Regions from separate parts of the Homo sapiens genome. Here region 1 is linked to region 2. Evidence: promoter capture Hi-C in human tissues and cell types (Jung and others, 2019). All regions are on one chromosome and are shown on one strand. Each heading gives the region's core, a stretch centred on a gene start or on the middle of the fragment in contact. The rest is flanking DNA. Distances are from core to core; before and after follow the strand shown. Region 1 overlaps EPC1 (enhancer of polycomb 1). Region 2 holds the start of ARHGAP12 (Rho GTPase activating protein 12).

Region 1 (2,700 bases), core at 43-2,542, 400 kb before region 2:
CCTTCTAGCCTCTGAGAAGTTTCCTTGCTGCCTGGCCTTCAAGCCAGTGGCATATATTTTAGTTTTTTTTGTTATAATAGTACCCTATCTCCAGGTACCAATTTATATTTGTTAGGATGGACTAGGATATGCTGTGATAACCAAGAACCTCAAAATCTTAGTGGCATAAAATACGCAAAGTTTTTTTTCTTATTCTTGTCACATTTTGGATCATTGTCCTGGATCAGCAGGGGAACCAGGGTGATACAGCAGTAAACATCTCAAGCCTGGCGACAGGTGGAAGAGTGCATTGAAAGATTTCACATCTTTCACTGACAGTTAAATGCCATGGTTCAGAAGTCATATAGGTCACTTTGACTTACAATTGGCCAGAATTAGGCACCTAACCCCTCCCAGCCACACGACAGCCAGAAAGTACAATCATACCAGAAATTTTGATGAACAACTCTAAAGACTTAACCCTTTCAGTATTCGTTTTTGTGTATTGGAAGAGGAAGGATAAGGAAGTAGGGATATTGTAGGTTCTGTCCTACAACTCCTTGCAGTGTGTTAACTGTACTTTTGTTTTTTGGAGATCTTTGAGAAGACAGATAAGAGGTATAAATTCATCAAGCCATGTTTCATCTGTCCTGAGTTTAAGGTCTTTATCCTTCTTCCTACTATTAAAAAGTAAGTTTTGCATTCTAACCATGATTTGGTCAGACTTTAACATAAAGACCTCATTTACTTACTGGAAGGCATACTGTAGTTGATATTGTCAGACTGAAATAAATTCCTAATTAAGTACAAGTGTTGTAACACCAGTCCTCTGCTACCATTTATCACTGGAAAAAGTTAATTTGCCTTTATAGAGTTAAAAAAAAAACACCAAAAAACCGGCAGTGTCTGCCACAGTTTGCTTCTTTGAAATGAGATTGTGATTACTCTTTTTTTGCCTACATTTGGAAGAATCAGCCTTTCATTCTAACCAAATTTAATGCATGATACAAACTTTTAGTATGGTTTACTTAATATTTTTGTAGGGAACATCTTAAATATTATCTGGAAACTTTACTTGATGTATTTTATCTCCTTCCACTCTGAAATAAGGGAATTTGTGTGATGTTTATATTAGCCTCAGAACCTTTACAAGAAAAGATAAAATTTTCCTTCTTTTATGTCACGTTTTGCAACCATTAGCCCCTTCCTGTGGAAATTAAAGTTGTTAGGAATTTTCTCTTGTTTCCATAGGAAAGAAGAAACCAGATTTATTTAACATAGCATTAAGCTTTAAAAATGATCCAGTGAGTTATCTCATATCCATTGTGGGGTGAGGTATGTGTTGTAAATAATCTTTGAAATGAATTATTGCTATTAATTAGAAAAGCTGTAAAAACAAGGCTTCCCTGTGATGGTAATACACACTTTTCTTTTTTAATTTTGTTTTGTGTTTTACAGTGTGTAGAGAGATCTCATTCTCTTGTACAAGTTGAAGTTTCTGACTATACTCAATATAGTATAGTGCTTGAATTTATCATAAAACGTCCTTAAGTTCTACAGTGAGAATTGATTATGTTCATAGGTTGACACTTGTTTTGTTAACAGTGACAGTCTGCAGCTAAAAATTAATTCAAGGTTTTATTTATTTATTTTTATTTATTTATTTTTCTTTTGAGACAGAGTCTCACTCTGTCGCCCTGGCTGGAGAGCAGTGGCAGGATCTCTGCTCACTGCAACGTCAGTTACCTGGGTTCTGCAGGTTTGCCATTTTCCTGCCTCAGCCTCGCAAGTGGCTGGGACTACAGGCTCCAGCCACCACGCCCAGCTAATTTTTTGTATTTTTCGTGGAGACGGGGTTTCACCGTGTTAGCCAGGATGGTCTCAATCTCCTGACCTCGTGATCCGCCGACCTCGGCCTCCCAAAGTGCTGGGATTACAGTCTTGAGCCACCGCGCCCGGCTAAAATGTGTTCTTGTTTGTTTGTTTGTTTGTTTGTTTTTTAAGATTAGTAGGAGAAAGAATATCTTTTAAGAAAACACAAGGTAAATTTGGAACTAAAGTTTTAAAAATTTATCTACTTATTTATTAAGTAAATAAGAGTAAGATTTATTAGAGTAACTTTTTTTTTTTTTGTCTTTTTTGAGACAGAGTGTCTCACTCTGTAGCCCAGGCTGGATTGCAGTGGCACAATCTCGGCTCACTGCAGCCTGGCATCTCGAGTTCAAGCGATTCTTCTGCCTCAGCCTCCTGAGTAGCTGGGATTATAGGCACCCGCCACCACGCAGAGACGGGTTTCACTACGTTGGCCAGGCTGGTCTGGAACTCCTGACCTCAGGCGATCCACCCGCCTTGGCCTCCCAAAGTGCTGGGATTACAGGCGTGAACCACATGCCCAGCCTAGAGTAACTATTAAGCTTATTTATTAAAGAATAACTAGGCCGGGCGCAGTGGCTCACGCCTGTAATCCCAGCACTTTGGGAGGCTGAGGTGGGCGGATCACGAGGTTAGGAGGTCCAGACCATCCTGGCTAACATGGTGAAACCCTGTTTTTACTAAAAAATACAAAAAAATTAGCCAGGCGTGGTGGCGGGCGCCTGTAGTCCCAGCCACTTGGGAGGCTGAAGCAGGAGAATGACGTGAACCTAGGAGGCGGAGCTTGCAGTGAGCCGAGATCGCGCCACTGCTCTCCAGCCTGGGCGACAGAGCGAGACTCTGTCTCAA
Region 2 (2,700 bases), core at 81-2,580:
CCAAGGACTGTGAAAAGCAAATGCAACGATAGAGACAGCACAGTCTCAGGCTTATTTTTCAAAAATTCTCATTGTAAGCCTCTTTCCTTTCTAAATGGAGACTATCTTAACACTTTAGCTCGCATTAGACTTAATTTAATAAGAAGGTTGTAAACCACAGCTGTTAAAGTCTTGCCACTGCCCTACCGGATTCTTCGCATCCTGTAAGGCACAATTCGGAGTTCAGCTGGTTGATAAGGAAGCCAGGCATTGTGGCATCTTCAAGTACGAAGTGAAGCACAGGAAAGAGCCAACTCCGGAGAGTAGCTCTTCATTGCTTGAATCATACATATGCTTGTTTTTTCCCCCCTCTCCTTTCTGGTCTCTATTATTAACAAATATTTCATCCTGGCACAACAGGCACAATCAACAACTGGTTAAGGAATGAGTAGTTACTGAAGTCCCAACGCCTCTCAGTTATTTTTCTCACACTCACTGTATTCTAGACCTAGAAGCCAGCTCTCATTTGAAAGCTGAGGTTCAGAAGGGTGAAGTGCCAATAAATGGCAGAAGCCAGGTCTCTTTCCTGATTCCCATTCCAGCTGAGCTCCTCCTGCCACTGGATCACCATCAAAGACCTGCCAAAGCTGTTACTTCCGGGTTCGGTGCTGCCACAGTGCAAACGGGGATGACTTTGGACAATGACCCTGTGGCCCCCGCAGGGCTCGCACCCTCAGGCCCGTGGAAGGCTAAATGCTGACGGACTGGTTCTGCCCTGGAGCGGCTCTCCGCGTCCCAGGGGTCTCCTCAGTCCCGAGTGTGCACAGCGGGTCCTGCCACGTACCCTGGCGACCCCAGCAATGGACTCAGTGCCCCGGGTCCCTTTCCGTCTCCCTCAGGCGGCGTGCAGCACTTTTTCGGGTGTCCCAGTGGAATTTCCGGGCCCGTGAACGACTGACCCACGCCCGGCCGCAGCTCCAGGGGCCGACGAAGGGAGCGCTAGGGCCCACGGCAGGGCCGTCTTTGCCCGGGCTCCATTCCTGCCACCCTGGCGCTATGTCCGCCCTTCCCTGGTTTTCCCTACGAGCGTTTTTTTAACGCTTCCCACTCCTTGTTTACAAAGTGCTGAGCCCCCTTGACCGCAGGCTCCCGCGCCGGCCCGAGTTCCCACACCGTACGCTGGCTGCCCCCTATTCGGATCCCCGCCGGGCGCCGCACCCCCTAGCCACCCCAGACCGTCCCGGAGACCCGCGCCCGCCCAGCTCGCCCGGGCCATCACGTGAGCCTCCCGCCCCGCCCCCGCGCGTCACGTGAGCCCCGCCCCCGCGCCGGCGCGCTCCGACGTGCCCTGTAACTTACCCTCCCTCAGAGGCCAGCCTGCGGGGACGGGCCGGCCGCGGCCGTAGCCGTGTGAACGCTCTTCGGGCTCGCGTCGTCGACCCGCAGCCGCGGGGCGGACTAAGAAGGGAGCCGCCTGCTGCGAGGCCGCCGGGCTCCCGGTGAGGTGCAGGGCGCGGGTCCTGGCGGACGGAGGGCAGGTTGGCGAGGCGCTGCACAAAGGCGCGCCGGGGCCGGGCTGTGCCCGCCGAGGGCGGTGGAGTCGGGGGGAGGCGTGTGCGGGAGGCGCGGCGGCGGCGGCGGCGGCGCCGCGGAGGTGCGCGCAAAGGGAGGTCGGGCGCGCAGCGAGGGGCTCTGGGCGCGGGGGTTAGGCGCCGAGGGGGAGGGGGCCGGCGCAGCCTATTGGCTGACGTGGGCGAGAGGGTTTAAATGGCCCGAAGTTGTGGCTTCTCTGCCCCCTGGGTTTCCTGACTTCCTGTGTGAGGGCAGCGCCCGCCCGCCCCGCCCCCAGGGAGGAGAGTGTGAGGGTGCGCGGGTGTGTGTGTGAGTGCGGGAGAGTGCGCGCGTGTGTGCACAAGGCGGGTGTGTGCGTGTCTATGTGCAAAAGGCGGGTGTGTGCGCGCGCGTGTGTCTGCAAAAGGCGGGTGTGTGTGTGTGTGTGTGTGTGTGCGCAAAAGGCCGGCCCGGCCCCTCCCGCGCCCTGGGCCCACTCCCTAATCGCGGTGGGGCTTGCAGGCCTCCACCCACCCGGGGAGCCCACCCGGGGAATCCACCTGGGGCGTCCCTCGAGGACTGTTGACCTTAAACCGGACACTTTCTTCTTTGCGGTCTTTCCCGGTGCCCTGCCCCTGCTGGATGGACGTGCATTCGCTCCCCTCCAGCTTATCTGGGCGGAATCTCCTCAAAGTCCTTGAATTGAAAAATCCTCTTTACCAGCGTGCAGCCCGCCTCCCATCTCAGGGGAGCTGGTTGTCTTCTCAGAACGGCTGTCCTTTACGCGTTGCTATCTTAAGTGACTGCAGACCCTTTGAGAAGAAATGGCCACACGGTCTTCGTTAGAGAAAAAGGCACGCCCTTCAGCTTTCGAGGCGTGTGATGTTTTCCTTTTGACTGCAGCTGCAGTTTTGTAAATGTATTTTCAAAGGCTAAAGCACGACGTTGAAAGTACACCTTTATCGAAAGTTTTAATGTCATCCCAAGTGGAGTGTTTGTTGTGGATAGAGGCTTTTAGCACTCTAATAACACGATTGGTTGTGGCTGGCTTTTGGGTTAATCATGACATTGAGAAGTAGATTTTATCGACTATTTAGGCATGCGTTCCTAAAGGGAGGTGGTGGAGGAAGGAAGGCTCACTCGGGTTCTGATTCAGGTTCTGCCACCCGA

The links. Contacts are between HindIII fragments. The study calls those that stand out against the background at their distance.
Region 1: a fragment that was not itself captured here is called in contact with the fragment with the promoter of ARHGAP12 in region 2 in 1 of the 25 tissues and cell types used here (lymphoblastoid cells).

What each region holds. Positions count from the first base shown.
Region 1 is chr10:32,323,952-32,326,651 of GRCh38, reverse strand. The region is part of intron 1 of EPC1 (enhancer of polycomb 1); the gene reads left to right. Among named protein-coding and RNA genes, the nearest start is that of EPC1, 22 kb to the left of the region's middle. The HindIII fragment of the contact is 3,077 bases long and covers 1-2,700 here.
Region 2 is chr10:31,927,461-31,930,160 of GRCh38, reverse strand. It overlaps ARHGAP12 (Rho GTPase activating protein 12), which reads left to right and starts at 1,330. Exons shown (of 20, transcript NM_018287.7): 1 at 1,330-1,478. LOC107984219 (a long non-coding RNA gene) reads right to left here. Exons shown (of 3, transcript XR_001747415.2): 1 at 2,118-2,700; 2 at 1,339-1,499. RefSeq lists a silencer at 1,159-1,658. The HindIII fragment of the contact is 14,818 bases long and covers 1-2,700 here.